3 separate regions of the Homo sapiens genome follow, and regions 2 and 3 are each linked to region 1. The links are contacts of gene promoters, found by promoter capture Hi-C in blood cells and fetal thymus (Javierre and others, 2016). All regions are on one chromosome and are shown on one strand. Each heading gives the region's core, a stretch centred on a gene start or on the middle of the fragment in contact. The rest is flanking DNA. Distances are from core to core; before and after follow the strand shown. Region 1 holds the start of TSGA10 (testis specific 10). Region 2 overlaps INPP4A (inositol polyphosphate-4-phosphatase type I A). Region 3 overlaps INPP4A (inositol polyphosphate-4-phosphatase type I A).

Region 1 (5,103 bases), core at 1,924-4,423:
CTATGTCTCAGATTTGTTATCTAATATGTGGATAATGACAGGACTCATCTCATATTATCAGGCTGAGTCTGATGAGCTAATACATATAAAGTGGTTAGAAGAGTGCCTGGCACTGAAGAAAGTACACAATATGTGCTAACTATTTTATTAATATTATGCCCTGATTTCTGGCCTGGCAAAGAGGTGAAATTTCCTAGGACAGATTTTATAGGAAGAGGAAGTATGGGGTTAAGATAATTGGTTCATTTTGACTGTTGAACTAGCGGCCAACGGCACAGAGCTCAATGGATGGTAACTGAGGCCACAGGAAGGTGGTTCAGTGAGAAGATTTAAGGGCCTGCGACATAAGACTGAAGAGCAGCAACATTTAACGGACATACAGAAGAAGGAGGGAGAGCTCCCAAAGGAAGCTGAGGATAGAAGAAAAGGCAGAAAAATTTTAAATATGCTATTATGGAAGCTTCAAGGAGACAAGATGGTCAACAGTGCCAAATGCCAAAGATTGAGCAAATAAGATGAGGGTTGAAAAGGATCTATTAAACAGTATCAAGAAGGTTATCAGTGATCTTGGTAAGAACCAGATGTACTGAGTAAATAGGAGGCCCAAGGTGGATACAATGAGGGTATTCTAGTTGTGAAGTGGAAAAGCTAGGGCAGTAGGTAGAAAGGAATGTGGAGTTAGGAGAGGACTTAAGATGCAATAGATCTGAGCATGTTTAGATGCTGGTAGGGGAGTCAAGAGAGGGCAACACTGGAGAAGGGAGGTCCTTGAGAAAGTGATGGTACTGGGATCCAGAGTTCAGGTAGGGGCAGCCTTAAAGGAGAAAGTAACAAATAGGAGTGGTGGTCACTAATAAGCTGGATGGTGTCTGTGGATATGGAAATTGTCAAAGATCTTGTGAAATATCTTTTCCCAAGATTAAGGCTCTTACTCTTGTCTGCATGTGCAGAGTGTGGCAGGATGGCAAAGTAGTTAAGGACTTAAATTTTTAATCCTGGCTCTGCCACTTACTAATGACTTTAGGGAAGTGGTTTAACCTCTAGCTGCTTCAGTGGCCTCAGACGTCATAAAATGGTTGAGAGAATTAAATGTGTTAATATGCATAAGCCATTCATGTTTGGCAAATATGAAATGTTAACTGTTATGACAGGGTTCTCCCTTTCCCATCTCTATTCTGTGCTTACTGTTCCTATCATATACCATGTATTCCCTCAAGTGAACAAAGATTCCTAACCAAGACACATCAAAGTGGCATTTACCTTGATAAATTAACTATAGTCCAAGATATTGACTTTGGTCAAAAATGTGATCTTGTTAGGGTTCCAGAATTGATCCAATTCATGTATTGAGCCAATGCATGTATTTTAATAGTGCTAAAAATATCTCTCTTCATCCAGGTATTGTATATACAGTGTGAATAAAACACAACAAAGGTATTAATTCAACAAAGTTTTCATCAATTACATGACAGACATTGTTCTTAGCACTTGGGAATCATCAGTGAGTCAAATGAATAAAGGTGATAAGGAGGGCTATTAAAAAAAGTAGATGGCCGGGCGAGGTGGTTCACACCTGTAATCCCAGCACTTTGGGAGGCCAAGGTGGACAGATCACCTGAGGTCAGGAGTTTGAGACCAGCCTGGCCAACATGGTGAAACCCCGTCTCTACCAAAAATACAAAAATTACCTGGGCGTGGTGGCAGGCGCCTGTAATCTCAGCTACTCGGGAGGCTGAGGCAGGAGAATCGCTTGAACCCGGGAGGTGGAGGTTTCAGTGGGCCGAGATGGGCTGGGCAACAGAGCGAGATTCAGTCTATTAAAAAAAAATGTAGAGCTGATAAAGGGAGGATTGTAACTGTGTATGTGAGAAAACTTACATTGCAATTTTAAATAGGGTTGTTAGGCTAAGCCTCATTAAAAAGGCATCATGTGAGAAAAGATGCAAGAAGCTGTTCTAAGCACCTGAACACGTAAACCAATAAACAGACCTCAGTGAGGATGTGACATTTCAGTTGAACCCCGAAAGATAAGAAAAAATCACACAGAGTGAGAAAAAGTGAAAACAAAGGGATGTCCAAAAATCCCTGACTGCCAGCTTATTGATTTACAAAGAGAACTATAGACCATCTATCAGATATTCAGATGAGCCTGTGCAATTATTCACTGTAGGTCTGGTGACAAGCCAACTCTTAAGTTTGCTTGGTGAATACATAATCAGAAAAGGACTGAGTTACATGATATGAACGTCTGACGGAATGGGCTCTGGGGAAGACACTTCCTTAACTCAGGAGAGCCCCTGCTCTTAAGCCGGGATACCCTCTCTCCCCTAGAGAAGGCGTGGATTCATCTGGCACAGGTGTGCCCCTCTTTTTTTATTCTATGCTCCAGTAGCGGATCAGACCCCGACTGAGTAATGCACGGTATTTCAGGATATTTCACAGTCGTTGGGATAGTGTCAAGCCTTTGAAGTTCTGGTTAAATTTTGTTCCTTCAAAATCACTTTGAATCTTTCTACTCTCACCCTTTAATGACTAATTTTTTGAAGTTTTTCCTCGGAAGACTTCCTTACCTTCCATGTTCTTGGGACACTTCGCTACCTCTGCACTGCCAAACACGGCTCCCCATCACTGAACTGAAAGCGAAAACAGCACAATCCCATCTATCTTTCTAGGCAGGCGCAGCTTCTTCATAAGACCTCGCCAAGACCCTATTATTTTGTCCCCTCTCTAATGATATACAACTTACTCAGAATCTCATTACGGTCGTGTGCATGTTTTACTTCGCCCTTTTGGCTCCCAGGGGGCGTGCACACAGCTAGCGTCCAACATGTTTTACGATATTTACCCTCCCTCCTGTGTTCGGGATCAACCGTTCCTAACAGTGAAATTAGGTCGTCCCAAGTGCTGAGGAGAAAGTGTGCACACAAGAGGCTTCAACACCGGCGGAGGCGACCCGCAAGTCCTGACCCACCGCCAGAAACACCGCGCGCGCCCAAGACCCCACGGCCGCCCACGCGCTACGGCCCGCAACATCCCGGTTTGAAGCGTTTCCGCTTCACCCACCTGCGGCTTCCGGTCGTACCCACGGCCTCGTGAGGGCTCGAGCTGGAAAAGTGCGTCATACGACCCCGAGCAACCGGCAGGCCTTGCGCGCGATGCTGCCCCGCCCCCTGAGGGCCGGCCCCCTGAAGCGCAAGAGAAGGAGGGGCGCGCAGGGATCGCGCCTAGTCTCTCCGCCTGCGGAGCCGTGGGGTCCCGGCAGCCCGCAGGAGTGCTAAGTAAGGGTCCTTCAGGGCGGGAACCAGGTTCCAGGCAGGGACGCAGGCTACGTTCGAATAAAAGTACCGAAGGTCATAAGGCCCCAGTTCAGATGGGACTTCCCCGCGTGACAGCACAGAGATAACGGCCAGCCCTGGGCGAAGGTAGGAGAGCGGGCGTGCCAGGTTGGAGGGGTCATTTCGTGGAGCGAGTTTAGGGGGAGCCCCCAGAAGCCCAGAGCAGTCAGGTCACACGACGGGCAGGAAGGAGTACCAGCAAATACTTTTTATTGAGCATACAGGTATTACGCTGGGTCTTTACATATCTCCTCCAAATAAGTGAGTCCAAATGGCAGGTAACTCGAAAGGTGAGAAATTCAAGTCAGCTTTGAAAGACACATTGCATTTAAAGGAAAAACGGTATTCGCAGATGATAATACAGGATGGAGTGGATCAGAAAACACACTGAGGCTACTGATCATTCCCATTTGCCAACTCACTGCAGTTGGCAAGAAAACTCTGTGACTCCATGAGATGGGAAATTACACCAGCAGTCAAGGTAGCAAGGTAATAGTTTCGGCTAAGTTTTGCTGCATAACAAACTGCCTCAAATAGTGGTTTATATCTCTAACGTGGGCAAGGTGGGTGATTCTTCTGCTAGTTTCTCCTGGGCATATTCATGTGGCTTCATTCAGCACAGGTTGGCTACGCTGGGCGGTCCAAGATAGCCTTATTCATGCTCTGGCAGGTGCTGCCTGGCTGCTAGGGCATCTCAATTCAGGCCTAATCTTGGAAGCAGCGCCTCAGCCATATTCTATTGGCCAAAACAACAACAAAGCCAGCCCAGAGTTAAGGCGTGGGGTAATGGACTTCACCTCTTGATGAAAGAAGCCCAAAGAATTTGTGGTCACCTTTTTCAACCTTGCACAGAAATTAATCTCTCCTTCAGTTAAAATAGAAACCACTAAGACTTGCCTCTTGGAGTAAGAATCATTCAGTGTTCAGTTTGCTGATGCTGATACGGTAAATGACCAGGGCTTCATATAAAGCTACAATGAAGACATAATGACACCTCCTTTCTTTATTATCACACCTTTTACCAAGGTCACTCTGAGTAAGTCTATCTTGTATTATGCAGGTGGGAATGAATTTTGTTCAGAGTTAACTGCACTAGGAATTTTCCTAGTTATTATTAAAAACAGTCACAGAATATTGTTGCTCTTTGCTTATATTACTTCCTTCTAAATTCCCTTTCTCTGAAATCTGAGATGGTACAACTTTGGTTTTTTTTCCTAGTTTCTTGATGAAGAGGTTTTAAAGAATCCCATTCCCTCCTCCCTGCTCCAGGACTTCTGTCCCTTGGTTATTCTTACCTTTACCTACTTCTTCAGCTTCTCCACTGGAACCTTTCAAGTGACACTCAAACATGCTGTACTCTTTAACAATCCTCCAGTGACCTCATTTCTCTTTCCACTTGTCATCCTGTCTGCTACCCTTCTGAGCCAAGCTTCTTGGAAAAACTGCTATACATCCAGTATCTACTTTCTCACTTCCCATTCATTGTTTCAACGTACTCCAAAATGGCTTTTCCCCATTATTCCAGCAAAAGTGCTTTTGCTAAGGTCACGGGTGACATTCATATTGCTAGATCCACTGGACTTTTCAGTATTCATCTAAGTGTTCATTTGACTACCTCAACCTGGAGATTCCTGTGGACAACTTTGACATTACCCTGTCAACTCCTCAGTCCCTTTTGCCAGGTTTTCCTCCAGCCTCACTGCCAACTCCGCAGTCCCCTTTGCCAGCTACCCTGATCTAGTCAGCCCTAAATGTTGGAGTTCCTCAG
Region 2 (5,103 bases), core at 1,223-3,722, 600 kb after region 1:
TAACTCTTCTGGAGGCCAGGTGGCCCTCCAGTGCTGCCTGAAAGGCCACAGGGCACTGTCTCATCTCCTCCTCTTGCCACTGCAGACTTCCTACAATCATCACACACAGACAAAATGGAGGCCTCCTTTTGATAGAAGGGAACAGAAATTTCGATAGGGGAGGTGGGGAGGAGGAGAGGAAGGTCTGGGAGTGATTTGCAGAAACACGCACAGTGTATAGGATGGGACTTTGCTGCTGATTAATAGTTCAGTGCTTGTAGAACAATGCCTCTAAGCAGTAGTCTCAATAAATGGTAAAAACAAGTTGTACAATGTGTCACTCCCTCAAGAAACACAGATCCTGCTCCCAGGGCCAATTCTCTGAGGAACAATAATGTGATGTAATGTCAGGGCGGCAGCTCCAAAATCCATATCTACTTGCCCCAGCACCAGAGCTCCCACGTCCCCAAATACACATAGCCCTGGAAAATCTAACAGCAAACAGAGCACTGACTGGTCTCAAGCATCCCAAGGCCATAGAAGGCACAGGAGGCAGGGGAAGGAGAGACCTCCAACACGGGAGGAAAACCCACTTGTCTTCCTCTTCATCCAGGTCTGAGGCTGGCCCAGCCCCCAGCACAGCCCTACCCCTATCTGGACACAAGGGTTTGAAAACAGTCTCCTCCCTCCCTGCATCAGGAGCCAAGGAGCCATCCAGGAAGGAAACCTGGAGCTTGTTCACAGCAGTTGAACCTTGAGGCACTTCAGAGGGGCAGAGACTGGCAACAGGTTTTGTGGTTTTCAGCCCAAGTTCAGCAGTGGGATGACAGCCACAGCAGCAGACTCACCCACTCCTCCTCGTGCCAGTCCACCTGCAGGGAAGATCGGCTGTTTCTCCCTGTCCACCGGGCCATGAGGGTGTCCTGGTCATTTCTAAGCATCACCTGCTCCTCCTCAGTCGAAGTGGGAGAGGCCTTGGAGGCAATGTAGTCAGGCCGTGCAGCGTTCAGCCCATGGATGGAGTTGGCCAGGAGCTTGCAGTCGCAGACCGTGACCAGCTGCCGTGTCTGCAGGTGCACACAAACCAAGGCTGCTGAGCCCAGGCCAGGGGCTGGGGAGGCCCCTGCCTTATCTCAGAAATGGAGAATGGGCTTAAAGCCCAGCACTGCACCCCTCTGCCTTTCTCCACAGTGCAAAGCAACTGAAGGGCTACATCCCTCAAGATGTCTGAGTACAAAGACTGCCATGTGGCCCACTTGGGCTGAATCTTAACAAGAATTTCCCACCAAGGAAGAGAAGAGGTTGAGAAATCTCTGACATTCTCTGATCCCTGCCTACCTCTGACCTGTGATTGCTAGGGGAGGGGCCTGCAGAGAGAGCCCACTGCCCCAGCCTTGACAGACTTCCACCTTCCAGGGAACAAGTGTCCAGGGGTCAGGCCTTACTTTGGTTCAATTGTGTAAGTCTTATCTTTTGTTCCTCAGCATCTAATACCTCAAGTTCTGGGTTCTGGGTAGCTGGCCTCCTGGCACAACATGTCTGGTTTTGGAGAATTCTGCATGCAACACGGGTTCTGTGGTTCATAATGTTACTGCTGACAACTACATCTTTCTTTTCCAGGGGATCTAATCCCCACCTCACACTCTATGCTGTGTGAACACCTGTGAAGGATATAACACATTCTGATCAGGAACAGCAGCTCAACAGCACAGTGAGTGTGAGTGTGGAGGTATAGTCAGAATCTGGGGTGTGTGTGTGTGTATGAGAGCGTGTGTGTGTGTATGAGAGCGTGTTTGTGTGCGCTGAGAGAGAGACCAAGTAATGGGGAAAAGTATCATCCATCAAAAGGGTCTGATAATAGCCACTTCCTCAGTAGGGATTAATACTTACATATTTTAAAACCAGGATCAAGTTATGGCTAAGTAGAAGCTGGTTTACTGACTATATGTAAGCCAATAAAATTATATTCTTCTTATGTCTGTATAATAGCTCAGTTTCTGTTTTCAAATTCAACTAAAATAGAAATGTGGCCAAAAAAAAAAAGTGCTAGTTAGGCTGTTACTGAGAAAGAAGTGGAACTGTATCACCCTCAACAAAATGAGCCCCATGGACTTGCTGAAGGGCACATGTGCCTGAAGCTGCACCTAAGAGTCATGAGCCCTGGGCTCTGCCCTTGGTCTGTCCAGCTCTGCGGACAAATCACAAAACCTCCCTGGGCCTTTGTGCGAAATGGACCTAAGGTAGACCTTCAAAGTCATCCCAATGTCACGCTCTTTGTGGACCATCTTAGGTACACCTGGGCTGCCTGGTGGCTTCCAGAAACCCAAGGAAACTCCCCAGCCCATATGTAGCAGGGCACCCCTCCTACCTTGTCTGCCAAGATGGCGAGTGTCCTCTCAAGGCCAGTGGCAGACCTGTCCTTGGCTGCCCTTGACAGCCGCTCTGCGTAGTAACTCACTTGGGTTTTCAGGGTGTTGATCTGGGCGATGATCTCCTTGGCTCTGACAACATCCTGGGGTATGTAGATTATGGACTGGCAGCCAGATGATGTACTGGAAAGGATAAGAATGGATTCTAAGGGATTCTCCAGAATCTGAAAAGGATGACAGCATCATTCCAACCCCAGCCACAATTGACCCTAAGATGAAGTGTTCTGTGACTCAGGGATGTTCTCTCAAGCTACTCTAGTTGTTGATGAGCAAAGTATATCTTAGGAGATTCTTCCTGTCTATATGGCAGGAGCTTGAAATATTAAACTATGACTCAGTCTTTTATCTGTATTTGCATGTATCTGTATTTTTACTTGTGTATGTAAATGTATGAACAGGTATTGAACAATCATATCCCATAATCACCCAAATGATCGTAATCTTCCACCTCACAACCTCATCTATTAACTTATAAGCAGTACTTAAGTGGAGACATAGAGGCCATTTACAGAAGAAGGGGTCAGGTTATCACAGTGTAGCAGAGACTGCAGTGGGTGTTAGACTTTGTCCCCAAACAACCAAAACCTATTTTTTCTTTTGGCCAATCAGGCATTCAAGCTCCCTGTGAACATACCCACAGTCGTCCTTCCTCTCATGTCTGACCCCAGCAAGTCCCTAGAAAATGGGGTTTCCTTTCCCTTTCCTTCGCTCCAGGACTTCCCTACTTTGAAAAATAACGTTTCATCAAATGAAGAAAAAGTGGAGAACATGCCAAGCCACAGGCAAAGCCGGACTCCTCAGTGGCTTTGTAACCCTGGCTCTCCCTCCTTCCCACCTCTTCGCCACCAAGCAGCGTGTGTGTCTAGGGATCTGATGCCAAGCCTACAGCCCAGCCCCTCCCAGCACAATCAGGAGGCTCTGAAAGACCAACTTCACATCCTCCCGCTGTGGGGGCCTGGCCAGTGTGTTGGGTCCAACTAAACGGTGATGATAAATTGCATGTCTCTTAGCCTGATCCCAATCAATCCAATATTATAAATTTATTTTTCAGACCATCTGAGGAAGCTGAAGAAAGCAGGAAGAAGTACAAGCCACCAATGCAGAGGTCTCCTCCTAAAATTTGAAATTGTGAGCTCTGGGTAGAATGGGTGTCCCTTCGCTCATGGGATGAGGGGTCCTGACTGGTCCCTAAAGGGCTACCCTTTGAATTCTGGGGAAGAGAGAGAGAGGAGGAGCGAGGGCACCTCTCACCACATCCTCCATCACTTCCCCTGGAGATGACAGTCACCTTGGTCAGGGCTGAGAATCTTCCCCATTGGCCCCTTCCCAGGGAAGTCCCAAAGTGGTTCATCAAGAAACCACCACTACCCCTTCCCTTGCTGGATTATGTGGCAAACATGCAAAAACCGAAAACCAAAGCACCCCGGAAAGAAACACCACCACCACAAGCCCACACGCCACAGTAAAAAACAATGGATGTGCCAGAAGCCCATGCAGCAGACCGCACTCAAGCTCGTGGGGCACAACAGGAGTCATTCCACAGCATGATGTGCACACTACTTTCCAATCTGCAATCACTCTTCCAAATGAATAGCTGCCTTCTAAGACCATTTCATCTTAAAAAGACAATCTCAAAATAGGATTTTAAAAAATCAATTCAGCCAAGCATGGTGGCCTATAATCCTAGCACTTTGGTAGGCCAAGGTGGGTGGATTGCTTGAGCCTGGGAGTTCAAGATCAGCCTGGGCAACATCGTGAGACCCCACCTTTTAAAAAAATTTAAAAATTAGCTAGGCATGGTGGCTTGTGCTTGTGGTTCTGGCTACTTAGGAGGCTGAGGCAGGAGGGTCAACTGAGCCCAGGAGTTTGAGGCTGTAGTGAGTTATGACGGTGCCAGTGCACTCCAGCCTGGGTGACAGAGCAAGACCCTGACTCCAAAAACAGTGGAAAAAAAAAAAGGATTCTTCCCAGGCCCCCAATATTTAGAGTACATATATAAAATGTGCTGTATGTAGATCTACTTCTGTGTAAGGAGGTGGCTGTGTACCCTTCAACAAATACATACCCTCTGCCCAGGCCAAGAGAAAAGCACTACCCTATACTTGCCCTGTATTCTCACAAGTCATGTTTTAATGATGATACCTGGGACTTATGCATGGGATATACATGGCAGGGGCAAGAAAAGGCAAATTTCAAAGAGGTGCTGTTTAGGATGATGAGGAAAATACAAGCATGTGTGCTCAACTACCTAGTTTTAAAAACCAGGCAGCCACATGAGGGCGGCAGGATGGAGGTGTAGACATGAAGCCTAGGGGCAGCCCCAGGAGGCAGTATCCTAGGTATAGCCCTTGGACTTTGCATTAGGCCCCCACCCCAGACCCGGACCTACCCAGAGCTGGGGTCATGGGCTAAACTGAAGATGCCATGAGAGCGTAAGGGTGGAGTCTTGTGGCCCTGGCCAGGAACTGCTGGTAACTGCTGAGCAACAGTCACTCTGGACATTAGAAGAGCAGGATCACCTCTGCAGAGGCTGAGCCCCCATGGAGCTGGGTTCTGCAAGGGTAGGAGGATTGGGAGGCTGGGTCCTCTCTGCCTGGGATTTAGCCCCTCACAGTCTCCAGGCAGGGACACTCCTTCTGCCTGTAACCCTCCCCGCTCCATCCCCTCCCTGCTTCAGGGACAGTCTTGTATATGG
Region 3 (3,851 bases), core at 1,352-3,851, 580 kb after region 1:
GTTCCCCAACTCCATGCCCTGCCAGAGCTGGCAATAGAAACCAAGTCACTTACAGACACCAGCCCTTTTGGGGGCCTGCCGCCTGTAGGCCTGCCATCATCCCTGCCATCCCCTGTGTGGCCTGCCTTCTCCCACAGGACACTCTTTTGCAGTCCGCTGTCCCCTTCCAAGCCATGCCTGGGCCCTCTTATCACGTTCAGCCCTTCACTGCTGATCCCTCAGGGAAAGAGGGCGGCAAATATGACCCACTGGGGAAGCCAGAGCCACTCTCAGGATGCCCACAGTCCTGGGCCAGGTCTCTAGGTCTCCCTGGAAGGTAGGGAACAGACCTACTATCTCTACTCTCCTCTTTCACCTGAACAGACGGGAGCAGCTCAGAAGTTGCACTGCCCTTTGGCCACCTCCTGACCACCAGCCCCACAGGCCTCCTCCCGCCATACTTTCCCGGTAGCAGAGTTACTGCCAGCACACTTCCCTCCTCACAACTGAATGGCTCACAGAGTAGGGGGCAGGGCAGCCTCTGGACTGGGAAAAGGCCACCTGAGTGCACCTCCTCTCCCCATGGGGAGATTTCAGGGCATTTTCCCTGCACCTCTAGATACAATCCTAGGCACACAGTCACCAAATCCATCAAGCTCTGAAACAAGGTAATTTTTTCATGTAAATCTGTGGCAATCTCATTTGGCAGCACAACCAGACCTGAGCTGATATAAGACTACTTGCAATCTTTACTTATCCCATTTTATGTAAATATTCATACTTTTCAGTGTGGCAATAATATGAGCTTGGTTGCAGAGTGCTGTCTCAGGCTCCCCCGGGGATGTTAAATCCTGTATGTATACCATGGTACACATATGCGATGGGCACCATATTACTTACATAAGTAAACACCAACTGTGTACCACAGTACTTTCTAAAATCTGAAAACCTGTGCATTCCAAAGCATCTGGCCACAGGGGCTTCAGATAAAGGACTATGCACCGTATCAGATACTGCACTATGACACCAAGGCTGGTATTTAATGAAACATCATCCAAGTGATATGATGGTGGGCTCCGGGTATCTGTTGTATGCCAGAAAAATATCAGTGTCTCATCAACTCCTGAAGATGGCACAACACCTGCTTGTCAGGCCAGCAAAGCCAAAGAGCATGCCAGTCACTACCAGGATCATCACTAGACACGAACATGGTACAGTGCTAAGAACCTCGTCTAGGGAAAGGCAAAACAAAAGACCCAATGTTCAGGCAAGACAATCAGAAGGAGAATAGGCTTCTTCTGAGAACAGACCAACAAAAAGAAAGAAAAAAAAATAACAGGCCCTAAGCAGATAAGCAGACCCTAAGCTAATGGAGAGTAAATTAATCAAATTTGTAAAGTTGTAACTGACAAAGCAAGAGTGAACTTGGTATGTGCACTAAATTCTGTGGGCTGTAGAGTTCATGACCCAAACACATGACGGAAGCTGGAACTATAGGTTTCAAAAAGCTTTAAATTCATAGATGCTGCATCCAGAGCTAACGTGAGGTTCTGGAAGGCAGGCAGGGATGGCCAGTGATGCATCCTTGCCCAAGAGGGCACTGCAGTGCCAGGCTTCCATCCCAGAGGGACACCAGCCACTTGTGGTGCACTGCTGGGTCTCCCCATCCATGAGATATAGGCTTAGACCTGACTAAAGATATTCCAGCTATTCAGCCAGGGACCCTTTATTCATACACACAAACAAAAAGAAATAAGAGCCTGAAAAGGAGAGCAGCTCTGCTCAAACTGGGGATGGAAGGACTCAGTACCTGAGTGGCTGGCACTGCTGCCCCACAACCCCTTATCCCCAGGGGATGCCTGGGATTCGGTGGACAACGTGAGAACCCATGCAGCCAAGGGTCTCTGAGAGCCTTGCACCTCTACACTCATGCTTGTTACCCTGAGATCTCTACTGGGAACAAGAAATACAGGACTTGATGGACTGCTTTTCTGTTCTGGTGACAGGGGATGGTCAGTTGTCCCTATACTTAATGATTTTTCTATTATATGGCAATAGACAGGTAGAACCACAGTTCCCAAACAAGATATGCACAAGGTCTCTGCACTACTCGTCTGTAAACTGCCTGTGTGTGTATTCCAAGGAGAACGCATCAGTGAACGCACATCCCCCACCACTGTTCAGACACCTAGCTGTGTCACCCTCTGCATTCTTTTTTTTTTTTTTTTGAGATGGAGTCTCACTCTATCACCCAGGCTGGAGTGCAGTAGTGTGATTTCGGCTTACTGCAACCTCCGCCTCCCAGGTTCAAGCAATTCTCCTACCTCAGCCGCCCGAGTAGCTGGGATTACAGGCATGCGTCACCACGCCTGGCTAATTTTTGTATTTTTAGTAGAGATGGGGTTTCACCATGTTGGCCAGGCTGGTCTCGAACTCCTGACCTCAGCTGACTCACCTACCTCGGCCTCCCAAAGTGCTGGGATTACAGGCGTGAGCCACCGAGCCCGGCCACCCTCTGTATTCTTCGTGTCCTGTGGGAAAGGCTTGCTTTTCACACAAAATCTCTTAAGGTACTTAGGTAAGAGGCTGTCACAGCCTGGCCAGGGGGGTTTAGCAACCCCCCAGGAAAAATAAAAGTAGGGAGCCCCCTCTGTCCTGCTGCAGAGACCCCCGTAGCCAGTGTGTGCCCTGCCCTACACCCCGCTTGCTGGGCCTGGCCTGAGCAAGCAATGCCAGATGAGGCCCCAAAACCAAGAGGATACCTCAAAAATGAGGCCTGAGAAACCTGCCGAACTTCCTGTCACTTTGTGCTTCAAAATGTGTTCTGTTATAATGAAAAGATTTAGAGGGCAGCCAGGCCCAGAGAGGGGAGACCTGCAGATTGATCCACCCCACGCTTCCCACAAAGATAAAGTCTGACCAGCTGAGGAACTCAAAAGATGGAGGGGAATGTTCACTCTTTAAAGCTGAATTCAACAAAATGGTATCAGCAGCCACAACTGTTAACAAACCCAGAAGTGGAGCACATTCAAAAAGTGCGGCTTCATGAAGCCCGGCTTGAACACAGGACTAATAACCAACCCGAAGTGGCGGCCATGCACCATGAGCAGCTGAGACGGTCTGCTGCTGTAGAAGAGACTCGGGGCTGAGAGAAGCACCTTCCTGACAAGACGGAGAGGCACACTTCAGAGTGAGCTGCTCAGGGAAGCTGTGGAGGGCTGGACCCTCTGCTGCTCGAGCTCTGTGACGAGGCGTGGTGGCTGAGGTGTGGTGGGCAGTGCAGTGCCACCTCCCTCCTGGGCTCACCATCCCTCTCCTCAGGCCCAGGCAGGGAGCGGGAATGCCACTGGGGCCATGTGTGCCCGAGTCCCAGCGCTGGGCAGGTTATGCTGCTGTGGAGAAGAATTAACCTCGCCCCTCATCAAGGGTGAATGAATGACCAGCTATGAAATTGGTCTGTTACCCAGGCTCAGAGCAGTGGCTTGGAATTCCACAAGTAAACTTTGGAGAAAATATGAGCAGGGTAAGTGCTTGGGAAAATGAGGAGATCAGAGGCACAATGGACGATAAAGATGGTTTAAAGAGACCTGAAAGGTCACATGGCCTCCTTCTGACCCTATTAAATGATGCAGTAGACAGTGGTTTTCAGCTGGTATCGATCGCCAGGCTTCTGAGGGTGACAACTGTCATCAGCCTGGCTAGTAAATGCCCCAAGAGATGGACTGTGTTAAGCTTATCAGAATTCAGGCAGCCCCAAAGGAATGGACTCTGTGAACTGTTCAGTCTCTTTCAGAGCTTCAGAACGTACTCAGTGACTCCCTCCTCTCCCAGTATGGAGAGCTCTGCTCTCCTGCTGAGATTCTACTTTGTAA

Evidence for each region. The method cuts DNA at HindIII sites, captures the fragments that hold promoters and counts their contacts. A CHiCAGO score of 5 or more calls a contact.
Region 2: a contact is called between a fragment that was not itself captured here and the fragment with the promoter of TSGA10 in region 1, in 1 of 17 cell types (naive CD8 T cells). The highest score is 5.3, in naive CD8 T cells.
Region 3: a contact is called between a fragment that was not itself captured here and the fragment with the promoter of TSGA10 in region 1, in 2 of 17 cell types (naive CD4 T cells and total CD8 T cells). The highest score is 5.3, in naive CD4 T cells.

What each region holds. Positions count from the first base shown.
Region 1 is chr2:99,153,012-99,158,114 of GRCh38, reverse strand. TSGA10 (testis specific 10) reads left to right here and starts at 3,173. Exons shown (of 21, transcript NM_025244.4): 1 at 3,173-3,422. It overlaps LIPT1 (lipoyltransferase 1), which reads right to left and starts at 3,148. Exons shown (of 2, transcript NM_145199.3): 1 at 3,064-3,148. RefSeq lists enhancers at 2,571-2,620, 2,651-2,730, 2,811-3,010, 3,041-3,270, 3,331-3,530 and 1 more. The HindIII fragment of the contact is 4,304 bases long and covers 463-4,766 here.
Region 2 is chr2:98,550,214-98,555,316 of GRCh38, reverse strand. It overlaps INPP4A (inositol polyphosphate-4-phosphatase type I A), which reads right to left. Exons shown (of 25, transcript NM_001134225.2): 14 at 2,348-2,531; 15 at 828-1,046. Among named protein-coding and RNA genes, the nearest start is that of COA5, 56 kb to the left of the region's middle. RefSeq lists an enhancer at 443-943. The HindIII fragment of the contact is 7,637 bases long and covers 1-5,103 here.
Region 3 is chr2:98,572,994-98,576,844 of GRCh38, reverse strand. The region is part of intron 23 of INPP4A (inositol polyphosphate-4-phosphatase type I A); the gene reads right to left. Among named protein-coding and RNA genes, the nearest start is that of COA5, 34 kb to the left of the region's middle. RefSeq lists a silencer at 2,415-2,597. The HindIII fragment of the contact is 2,224 bases long and covers 1,490-3,713 here.